Regions from separate parts of the Homo sapiens genome. Here region 2 is linked to region 1. The links are contacts of gene promoters, found by promoter capture Hi-C in human tissues and cell types (Jung and others, 2019). All regions are on one chromosome and are shown on one strand. The core of a region is centred on a gene start or on the middle of the fragment in contact, and the rest is flanking DNA. Distances in the headings are between cores, read along the strand shown. Region 1 holds the start of SLC19A3 (solute carrier family 19 member 3). Region 2 has its middle 13 kb from the start of SCYGR4.

Region 1 (6,078 bases), core at 1,313-3,812:
TCCGCCTGCCTTGGCCTCCCAAAGTGCTGGGATTACAGGTGTGAGCCACCGCACCCAGCCCAAGTGATCTTTAAGATGCTTCAGATTTTATTTTATCATATATGGTACCATTCCTTTTAATTTGCATGAGGTGTTTGCTGGTAAATTAATCATTTCCTTCCAAATTCTGTTTATTCTGTTATGTCTATGTTCAGATCAATCTAGTCTTAGGGAGAGCAGGAGGAATATGCCTAAGAAAACCATAAAACTAAGAAAAACATAAAACGGCTTAGAAAGTCAACTGAGCCCAGCCTGGGCAAAATAGCGAGACCTCACCTCTATAAAAAATACAAAAATTAGCTAGGCATGGTGGTGTGTGCCTATAGTGCCAGGTAGTTGGGAGACTGAAGTGGGAAGATTGCTTGAACAGGGAAAGTCAAGGCTGCGGTGAGCCGAGATCCCAGCCACTGCACTCCAGCCTGGGCAACAAGAGCGAGACTCCGTCTCAAAAAAAAAAAAAAAAAAAAAAAATTTCAAAAACCCCAAACAAAACAAAACAAAAAAGGAAAGTCAGCTGACATCTAATCCTTGAGATGCAGTGAAAGTTTCTGATTAAATGCACTGAGAGAAGGTGGTGTTGTAGGGAAAAAACTGGATTAAAGAAAAATTAGAGGTCATTTGAGCTATTTTACAACTCTGTAAATTTTAACAACTGATGGCAATGTTAAGTAATTATTGTCTATAGACATGCAAATAAGGTTTATCCCATGAAGGACAACAGTCTTCCTTTCCCCCATGGAAAACCAGTTTCAATATTCCTGATCTATATTTCATTATTCAATATTCCTGATCTACGAATGTACCCATTCTTTGGGTTCTTCTTTGATCTGGCTACTACAGACTCATCAGTTTCGTCACTAATAAGTGCCGGGACTCAGAAGCCGATACCCCAAAATATGGGGCTTTGACATGCTGGAGACCTCAAGGTCTCTCTGACCTTCCCGGCTCCCAGCTCAAAAAAACCTTTGTCTGCCTAAGATCCAGACCCACCAAAAGGAACAACTGTTTCTTTTCCCTTCCCTGTAAGACCAAGAATATACCCCACACCTGAACAGACCCATTCACAAGATAATGTAGCTTATTCTCTCCCCTGACCCATTCATGCTCCCTAGCAGAAGCCCATCCACTTCTGCTGGATGCTCTTCGGCTCCCTCCCGTAACCTCATTTGCCAGGGTAGTCTATAAGCTTCTGAGACATGTTGCAGGGTGGGTAATCAATCACTCTGATTCTCCCTGTGTGCATGTTAAATAAATGTGTATGCATTTACCATTACACAACCTTAAAAGAGTGTTGTTGGTCTATTAGCAATAATGACTGAAGGAAATTGGTATTTTTGTCCATTTCAGCTACTACTAGGATAATCTTATAAGATATTTGGGAAGTTATGTTTTGGTCTATTTAATATATGTGCCTCGATGAAAAAAACACCTTTTGCCACAGGAGACACCAATGTTTCAATATTGATAGGAGCAAAACACATGAGAGTGCTTTTTTTTTTTTTTTTTTTTTTTTTTTGAGGCAGAATCTTGCTGGGTCGCCCAGGCTGGAGTGCAGTGGTGCAATCTTGGCTCACTGCAACCTTCGCCTCCCAAGTTCAAGCCATTCTTCAGCCTCAGCCTCCAGTGTAGCTGGGATTACAGGCACCCGCCACCATGCCCGGCTAATTTTTGCCTTTTTAGTAGAGACGGGGTTTCATCCCAGGGCCAAGCTGGTCTCGAATTCCTGACCTCAAGCAATCCGCCCCGCTCAGCCTCCCAAAGTGCTGGGATTACAGGCGTGAGCCACTGCGCCTGGCCTGAGAGTACTTTTAGAAAACATTATTCCTTTACCTTTTTCAAACTTGAAGCACTCCGAAAGTCCCAACCTTTTGCACATTTGCGGCAGCGACATTGATTTGGTAAACAGCTGTCACACTATTTATTATTTGATGACTTAGGTATCCTTTCCAGCAGTGTTTTTGTAAGGTGTAGTTGCGTTTTCTTTTAGTTTCAATTAACTAAATTTCAAGTGGTTCCCAAAAAAGCCCCTGCTCTCTTAAATTCAAACTCACCTTCCTTTTTCCCACTAGGAAGGACCTTTTCTCCATCCTTGGATTGGAATTTGGAATTCTATGCTAAAATGCCTTTTCAGTTAAAATCTGTGAACGTGGGATGTAACCATAGGAGGTGCTGGCACTTTACGGGAATCATGATTTTATTTAATCTGCGCTTCCAGAAGGCTGCAAATGGGAATTCCAGACAAACCCACTTGGGTGAATCCCAGCACGCGGGCTGCGGCGTAGGGGGAGAGCTCCTCACGCGGCTCAGAGTGTAGCCCAGGCCCGCAGAGCCAGGAACCCGCCCCCAGCTCTCCAAACCCGGGAAGAGAGAGGCGACACTGCTAAGACCGAGGGATGACGGTGCTTCTTCAATTAATTCGCCCCCCGAGATATTCTTACCTACAGAAGGGAGTGTCTGTTCACCAAATCGCTCACTTGCCGCACGACCACGCACCCGCGGCTGTCGGATGGATCCAGGCGCTCTTGGTGGGAAGGGGGCGGAGCCTGCCTGGCCCGGAGCCCGGGGCCACGCCCCCACGCTTTGCATATGCGAATCCGGGCGTCCAGACCTTTCATCCCAGTGTGGAAGCCCAGATTTTCCTGGCCCAGGGCCGGTTTTCTGGGCAGAAACAGTCAACTCTGCTGAAAGGAACAACTTAAGTAATACACTGACATTCAGCATAATGAAGCAAGAGGGCCTGAATCCAACAGCGATCGTTTGCTTTATTTACAAATATGTCCTTTCTTATGAATCCATTTATTTCTCTCCAAAAGCTTAGGAGAGAGGGCTGGCTGGCTGTCACCCCCACTCTACACATGAAGAAAGTGAGGCGGAAGGAAGTAGGCCTAGTAAATAGAGAAGCCTGGGTTTTAGTTGGGGCTCCTGGCTCCAGAGCCAGTGGTTATAATCACTCTGCACTTTTTTTTTTTAAAGGAGGTAGAGTGGGATGGTTTCCTGGCACTTTGAAAATCTGATACAAACAATTTTTTCTTTTCTTCTTCTTTTTCTTTTCTTTTCTCTTTTCTTTCTTTCTTTTTTTTTTTTTTGAGACAGAGTCTCCCTCTGTCGCCCAGGATGGAGTGCAGTGGCGCGATCTCGGCTCACTACAACCCTCCGCCTCCCGGGTTCAAGCGATTCTCCTGCCTCAGCCTCCAAAAATTAACGCCCAGTTAATTTTTGTGTTTTTAGTAGAGACGGGGTTTGGTTTCACCATATTGGCCAGGCTCATCTCGAACTCCTGGCCTCGTGATCCGCCTGCCTCGGCCTCTCAAAGTGCTGAGATTACAGGCGTGAGCCACCGCGCCTGGTCTTTTTTCTTTCTTTCTTTCTTTCTTTTTTTTTTTGAGATGGAGCCTCGCTGTTGTTGGCCCCGGGCTGGAGTGCAATGGCACGATCTTGGCTCACTGCAACCTCCACCTCCCGGGTTCCAGCAATTCTTCTGCCTCAGCCTCCCTAGTAGCTGGGATTACAGGCGCCCGTCACCACACCCAGCTAATTTTTGTATTTTTAGTAGAGATGGGGTTTCACCATGTTGTCCAGGCTGGTCTCAAACTCCTGACCTCAGGTGATCCACCCGCCTCGGCCTCCCAAAGTGCTAGGATTACAGGTGTGAGCCACAGCACCCGGCCACCTGGCCTCTTTTCTTTTCTTTTCTCTTTCTTTCTTTCTTTTTTTTTTTTTTTTGACAAAGTCTCACTTTATCTCCCAGGCTGGAGTGCAGTGGTGCAACCCCAGCTCACTGCAACCTCAATCTCCCAGGCACACTGATCCTCCTGCCTCAGCCTCCCAAGTAGCTGGGCTTGCAGGTGGGTGCCACCACGTCACATTAATTTTTTTGTTTTTTTTTTTTGGTAGAGACAGAGTCTCACTATCTTGCCCAGGCTGGTCTTGAACTCCTGGGCTCAAAGGATCCTCCTGCCTTGCCCGCCCAAAGTGTTGGGATTACAGGCATGAGCCACTACGCTTAGCCTGCAAAGAGTTTATATATTAAAGTGAAACTTCTTATTAAACAGAGAATTTTTTTAAAGCATTACAAGGTTCTTATTGGTTAAAATGGAAAAAATATTTTTATTTCTGTTCATCTCTTGGTGGACTTGAAAAACCCTCCCTAAAGATAAACACTGCGTGGCTTCTAAGGGCTACCAGTGGAAGTGAAATGGATTAAAACACCCCGAGGTGTCTTGGTTCTCTGTCCTACGACTCTGCGTTTTCTATTTTCATCTTCCTATGATTTGTGAAAAGTCCTGAGCTGAACCTTAGGTGTAGGAGTGCCCTGCTCATTGTGCAACCTTGCAAATTGCTGGGTCCTCCCAAAGAATATTGTGAAATTTTCTTAAAGGCTGAAGGTGTCATGATTTCCTTCACACCTCTTGAAGAAAATGAGTTCAAATTGGACCTTGAGAAGTTTACTCTGATTCTCTAATATCTCATAGCCACAGTCTAAATCAGAGAGAGATATTGAGGAATTCATTCATTCATGCATAGAAACATAAATGACACATTTGCAGATTACATGACATGACATTTGAGTTTGATCCCATACGACTGTGTGGGGAGAAGGCTGTGGATGGGGTCATAGATGACAAAAGATTGGCTGTGTGTTGATTATTGTTGACTTGGGCAGTAGTTCTTAGAAACTGATTGCACTATTTTCCATTTTTGTATATGTTTATTTTCCATAATACAAAATTGTTTTAAAATCATTTATTCTGACTGGGCACAGTGGCTAATGCCTGTAATATAGCACTTTGGGGAGCCGAGGTGGGTGCATCGCTTGAGCCCAGGAGTTCAAGACCAGCCTGGGCAACACAGTGAGACCCTGTCTCTACAAAAATACAAAAATTACCCAGACGTGGTAGCATGCGTCTGTAGTCCCAGCTACTTGGGAGGCTGAAGTGGGAGATTGGCTTGAGCCTAAAGAGGTGGAGGTTGCAATGAGCTGAGATCACACCATTGCACTCCAGCCTGAGTGACAGAGCCAGACCCTGTCTCAAATAAACCCATACACAAAAAAGAAAAAAAAATCATTTGTTCATTAAGAAGTTATTTATTGAGTAACTATGTGCCAGACACTGTCCTAGGTGCTTGGGATACATTCGTGAACAAAGCTAAAAATCTCTGCCTTGTAATTTACATTCTAGCTTGGGATGGGGTATATAGAGGGAACATAAATAGTAAACATGATGAGTTAGTGAATTTTATAGTGTGTTAGAAAGTGGTAAGTGCCGTGGATCCCACTGAGAAGAGGATGGAGAAGATGACTAAGCCTGAGGCTTGGAGCTCCAACTTGGGAAAGAACCTACAGGGAGGCTGAATGAGAACAGTAGGAGAGGGAGCCATAGTGTATTAGGGAGTTGCTCAACACTGTGTACCTCCCTATTATACTTCCTCTTGCACTGTTACTAAAAAATGTGGCTGCAATTATGTCCATGAAAACCTATACAAGGCCAGGCATGGTAGCTCACGCCTGTAATCCCAGGTGAGTAGATCACCTGAGGTCAGGAGTTCGAGACTAGCCTGGCCAACATGGCGAAACCCCATCTCTACGAAAAATGCAAAAATTAGCCAGGCGTGGCGGCACACCCCTGTAATCCCAGCTACTTGGGAGGCTGAGGCAGAAGAATCGCTTGAACCCAGGAGGTGGAGGTTGCAGTGAGCCGAGATCACGCCACTGCACTCCAGCCTGGGTGACAGAGTGAGACTCTGTCTCAAAAAAAAAAAAAAAAAAAAAAAAAAGTCTATTTGAATAGTTGATATAGGAGTGGAGAAAAGGTGGCCAGGCAAAGAAAATCTCACATTAGGATTACTGCAAGTAGGCTAATTTATCTGTTTCACTCTTAAATGTTAACTCTTTGAAGGCAAATATTTGTTTAGTTTTTTTTTTTTTTTTTTTTTGAGATGGAGTCTCACTGTGTTGCCCAGGCTGTAGTGTAATGGGTCGATCTTGGCTCACTGCAACCTCTGCCTCCTGGGTTCAGGGGATTCTCCTGCCTCAGCCTC
Region 2 (6,078 bases), core at 942-3,441, 89 kb before region 1:
GCCTTATGATCTGTCACTGTCTCCCAGGAAAACAAACTCAGGGCTCCCACCGATTCTACATTATGGTGAGTTGTATAATTACTTCATTATATATTACAATGCAATAATAATAGAAATAAAATGTACAAAAATATAATGCACTTGAAACCATCCTGAAACCATCCCCCTGCCCTGGTTTGTGGAAAAATTGTCTTCCACAAAACCAGTCCCTGGTGTCAAAAAGGGTGGGGACTGCTGATACACATGGTCCATCATTAACCGAAACATAGTTATGCTTCCCATGACTGTAGTTCTATTTTTTCCCCAAATTCATGATTATTTTGTTCTATTCTTATGATGTTCTATTTATGTACCTTGTTCTATTCTTATGATGTTATTTTCCTCCATGTGTAAACATATTAAACATTTTATTTTATATTCTAATACTGATAATTCTTCTACGTCAAATCTTTGTTAGTCTGATTTCGCTATTTATTACTTCAGTTGGCTTGTTCATGAAACTTTATATCCTTGTTTGATTCTGAATTTTTAAAAATCATAATCTCCTATTCGATGGAATTTTATTTGTGGCAATATTTTGATTCCTGTATTGAGGTACATTCTTTCAGAAACCATTTGCCTTTGTTACATATAGGTGCCTGGAGACACTGCCAATCAGGACCACTTTAAACTAAATTTTCAGCTTGAAAAAAAAAGTTTAGCCTATAGGAATAGGACTCCAGAATTACGTAAGTGCTGGTTTATAAAGGCAAATGCTGAGGGTATATTCTCCAGACTCCACCCAGATTAGTCTTCTTCATTAGGGATTTTCCCCCTGTCATTTTGTATTTTGTTCTGATTCACCATTCACTGAGGATGTGGCCCTTTGGGGTTGTCACTAAAACCAAAACTCTAGGTTCTGGGGGAACCAGCAGATGCCTTGAGCACACCGCAGAGTCAATGCTTCCTTAGCTATCTGGCTTCCTGTTCTTGCTTTGGCATCTGAGGATTTTTCTTACTTTCTTACCAGTTTAGCCGTTTATTTTTTTTTAATTAAATTTATATCCACGAAATCCAAGGGTTTTGTGGTGTAAAGATTTTTCTGATATCCAGTCTGTTGTTGCCTAATGAAAGTAAGCCTTTCTTACTTTAATATTTTTTAAAAAGTCTGTTGCCTTTAATAAATAAGCTTTTCTTAATAAAAAAATTTAAAAACATTTACTGAAATTTGTTTAAATTTCAAACAACCCTAAAGTCCCCATCTTAGTCCATTTTCTGTTGACTGAGAATACCTGAGACTAAAACATTTGTTTAAAAAAGAAGCTTATTTAGCTCACAGTTCTGGAAGCTGGGAGGTCCAAGATCAGGTGGCAGCATCTGGCTGGCTTTTGGCGAGGGCTTTGCTTTGTGCTGTCATAACATGGTGGAGAAGGAAGGGGAAGCGCATGTTTAGAGACCAAACATGAGAGGCAGCCTTGCTTATAACAATTCACTCGAGTGGTAACTAATCCATTCCCAAGCAGGCAAGAGCTTACTTTCAGGAGAAAGGCATCGATCCCTCTTGAATGACCTAATCACCTCTTAAAGACACCAATTCTCAACACTGCCACATTAGGGACCAAGCCTCAGCACGAGATTTGGTGTCGTATTCCAGCCATGGCACCCCTTTCTCCTTTAAGCTCAACCCCTCAATCCCATTCCTCCTAAGGTAATTGCATGGAGACCATCTCCATTAGGATAGAAAAGTAAGAAAACAAGGCAACGTCTAAATGATCAGGACCCAAACTCACTCAAAATCCTTTTAAGGAGTTTATTTTGTTTGATAATGAAAATGTGGGCCACGTACGATGGCTCATGCCTATAATTGGAGCACTTTGGGAGGCCGAGGTGGGTGTATCACCTGAGGTCAGGAGTTCGAGACCAGCCTGGCCAACATGGCGAAACCCTGCCTCTACTAAAAATACAAAAATTAGCCGGGTGTGGTTGCATGTGCCTGTAATCCCAGCTACTCGGGAGGTGGAGGTGGCAGTGAGCCGAGATTGCACTCCAGCCTAGGCGACAAAGCAAGACTGTTTCAAAAAAGAAAAGAAAAGAAAAGAAAGAAAATCTGGCCTTTGACTTCAGCTGTCCTTTGAGTTAAGACACCAAAAAATAGTTTATGAAATAGTGGAACCTAAGCCTGATGGACCACACACAACCTGCATTTGAGTCCATGAATATGAAGTGAGAACACTCATCTGGGCTATCTGGAATGTCAAATAGCACATACTCCACACACACTGAAAAATATCCATTTTGATGTATGTGAGCCTATTCCAAATCCAGACGAATCCCCATTTCATGCACTTAAAATAATATCATCACTGTGTTTGACGTTTCGGGAGGTAATCTTTCTACGCAGAGTGCCCCTCTCCTTACTAATCCCTTTGGGGTTACAACTAAAATTCCATTTTCATGATTCTAACTTTTATTTAATTAAAGGTAGATTAAAGTACCAGTTATCCTAGCTGGTTAATCTAATGGAGGGTGCAATCAGAGGCCATCAGCTGGTCCCAGAGTGGCTGAGTGCAACGGCTGCTGGCTGTGAGCACTGGGCAGGGTCACTGCGTTATTTCCCAGTGAGGAAAATGAAGGCAGAGGAGCACAGCAGCTGCGGTTTCTGTGATATCAAAGGGGCACTTGGCGCCACTGGACTTTCCCTTTTCTTTTTTGTGTGTACTCCCCAAACTTGGTGATAAGAGTTGCTTTTCATGTCTTAAGCCTCAAGACCATCCAGGGAGGAGGAGGGTGAAGGCAAAGAAATTAGTGAATGACGGAGGAGTCTTACTGTCAACTCCCTTGATCAAGAAGAAATGGGCACTTACTCAGTCTGTTTCTCATTCCAAAAGTTATCGCTGCAAATTGGGGGGTGAAAGTGGGGAAGTGGGGGGCGATGAGAGGGATGAAGAGGTCTGGTAACAGGTAACCAAGAGGTGGGTGTTCTGGTGCAAAACTTGTGGGGTGTTATTACTTCATTTACCTAATTAAAGGCTTATTTTAAAAAATTAACCTTATTTGAGATGTTGTATGGTTATTTACCCACCCCCTCCAAATCCCTCTTATATTCAAACTTGTGAATTTCATCTATTTTTGGAAACAAGATTCTGCCAGAAAATCATTTTATATCATTAGTCAACCACAGTACAGTCTTGTGCCTTCAGTAAAGACAATTATATCTACCACTCTCTCCATAACCGGCTTGGTGATTATTACTAAATTACTCTTCAGCTTTTTCTAGTTGAGATAAAAATGCTTCTTTTAGCTTTCCTCATGGGCCTCTTCCCCTAATCTTTCAGTCATCTTCAAAGATGTGTCTTGAAGCCCCTTTTTAAGATCTTCATAAATCCATTAAGACCTTTGAAACTCCATAAATAGCTTATGTTGTGACAGCAGTTTGAGAGATGCTGGGAAAATGAAGGAATCGCTTCTGGAAGTCTCGATGCATCCTACTCTTTGCTGAATCTCTGTGTCAGAGAAAAATCCTGATTCAGTTTGTATTTTCTACTTTTTAGATTCCAATTTTTAAAAATGGCATTTGGCATCCTATTAGTGGAATATCATGAGTGCAGACAGAGTCAATGATGAATGGACATTTATGATTGAGATTTGGGAGTTACTAATCAATGCACTTCCATATTACTGGCTCTTAAAAACTTAATGAAAGCATATTTAATTAGATTCCTACCAAAAATCAATTTTTAAGAAGCACAGTTTTCAAGACCAGCCATTCATAATAACACCTTTTTTTCTTTGTATATAGGAATAGGGTTTGTCTTCTGTTATGCCTTTGAGCTGTATGTTTTTGCTCATCCTGCTCTGTACCTGGGTAAACTGGTCTCTTCTTTAGCAATTAAACTTTAAAATAGCTTTCCATGGAAGAACCGAATTGAAAGTTGTTCCAGCATTGAGGATGTCAGCAGAGACTAGCAGAGAAGATACGGTAGCAATACAAAGATTTTAAAGGAGTGACTTAAATCTATTCCTCTTGGTCAAGAAGGTAAAAGGATTCGGAAACATTGAAGTATCAGGGGATACAAAAGGTAAAGCTTGAATTTTTCTGCCAAATTTTAGATTTGTTTTCAGCTTTTCATGCCTGTGTGACCCCCTGCCTTTTGAAGAAAGAGCAAAAGGTGTTGATCTGCCAACAAAGAAGACACTGAAATTTTAAATTAGGTTACACAAAATAGTGGCAGAAAGGAGAATAGAAGGATTAATGGCTCGTTTTTATTTCTAGTCCTATTTTACCTAATTCAGTTATAGGAATTCATTCATTTCAACTTAGGATATAATGGATTTGTCGAAAAGTAAGGGAAATATCTGGAGCTGATTAATGTAAAAGTCTTTAGAAAAGGTAAGTGCCTCCTAACCATGTTGATTAATGTAAATAGATGTTATTTTTTTCAATTAGGAAAAGAGAGAGAGATGTTTGTTTATTGACAACACTAAAGGCCAGGAATAGTGTGGTTTAGAGGCCAGCACTTAACCTGTGTAAGAACTCATGCAGTAAGTCTTATATTCTCCATTTTACTCATAAGAAAATTGAGACATTAAGAACATATTACATCTTTAGGGTTTACTTTAAAATAATTTAGAAGCAGGGGTGAGAAATTTCATTGGGAGTGGAGTACAGATGAAACAAGATTGGCCACAAATTGATATTTGTTAAAGTTTGTTTCATTATACTATTTTTTCAAAATGTTGTATGTATTTGAAGTTTTCCAAAATGAAAAAATTTTAACATGTCACTATAAACATCAAGATTCAAAACCAGATTTTGCTGATTTCAAGCTTGTTCTCTCGCTAACAGATGATACACAGAATAATTTCTGAAAAACTGAAGAGCAATTTGCCAACCAGATAGTAAATTAGGAATTTACATTTTATTTTAGAAAGTAATGCTTACACGTCGAATAGCCTCAAACAAGCATATTATATTGAACAAGTGTGTAGTACTGAATCTACATGAATCTTAGTGTTAAGATTTATTAAATGGAAGCAATCCTTTCCTCTGTTGAACAAGTGCGACTACAAAGTAGATTTTTAAAAAATGTCCTGGCATTACTTCATTTAATTTTGTATTCTGAAATGATTTCTTTTTGCCTTTTTGCTTTTAAACAAGATAGCTTCTAAATATTTTGTAGGAATTCTCATCTATTTATAGAGAGGTAAGAATGACGATTTTGTCCATGAGACAGAGTAGATTTACAGAATTTGGGAACTAAGCTTTAATAAGATTGAACTTTAGCTAGGGCAAGGAAAAACCTTTAGCTGTAGCTAATGAGAACCACTTCCACTGGAATGACTTTATGGCTTTAATTTTATGCAGTTCTTTCATTCCTTCACCTCTTTAGTGAAAAGGTCACCTGTTTAATGAAAAGGTTTCTTAAGAAATAGAACCTTAACTACACCATATTTCTATTTCTCAGTATAAAATTATTCTATTGAAGACATCATGCTAAAGGAAAGAAACTAGAAATAAAAGGCTATATAAAAAATAATTCCATTGATATGGCATTCTATAATGACAAACTGTATGGATAGAAAACCAATCAGTTGTTGCCAGGGACGAGGGGTGGGGAGAGGGGATTGGTGGCAGAGAAACACAAGAGCACTGTTTGGGTTGATGTTTATCTTCATTGTGGTGGTAGTCACACAGCTGTACATTTGCCCTAATTCATAGAACTGTACATACAAAGTGTGAACTTACTGCACGTATATTATTTATCAATAACTCTGATTTTTAAAAGTATAAAGATAAATAGATATAGATATATAGTTTTGAAAACATGCCTCTTTGTCCATGAGAGCACAGTGGCCCATGCACTTACCTGAATGTCAACAGGAAGCCCCAGTCCTTGGTTGTCAACCACAGTCATCGTCACGATGGGTTGAATCATCAAGGCAATGAAGGGATTAATTCCAAACGTCAGGGCATAGTCTTCCATGCTCAGATTAACTCCAATCTGAAATCTGTCATTGTACAAATGGAAAGAGTTTTAAAAGGACACACACATGCGCATTCAAATACAAAACAGCGAATTGTGTTCTTCTCAAGGCTTT

What was found. The method cuts DNA at HindIII sites, captures the fragments that hold promoters and counts their contacts. A contact is called where the count stands out against the background at its distance.
Region 2: a contact is called between a fragment that was not itself captured here and the fragment with the promoter of SLC19A3 in region 1, in 5 of the 25 tissues and cell types used here (H1 embryonic stem cells, heart left ventricle, mesendoderm cells and 2 more).

The regions. Positions count from the first base shown.
Region 1 is chr2:227,715,466-227,721,543 of GRCh38, forward strand. It overlaps SLC19A3 (solute carrier family 19 member 3), which reads right to left and starts at 2,563. Exons shown (of 6, transcript NM_025243.4): 1 at 2,478-2,563. RefSeq lists an enhancer at 2,094-2,980. The HindIII fragment of the contact is 9,813 bases long and covers 1-5,296 here.
Region 2 is chr2:227,627,123-227,633,200 of GRCh38, forward strand. It overlaps the pseudogene SLC19A4P. Among named protein-coding and RNA genes, the nearest start is that of SCYGR4, 13 kb to the left of the region's middle. The HindIII fragment of the contact is 5,663 bases long and covers 1-5,023 here.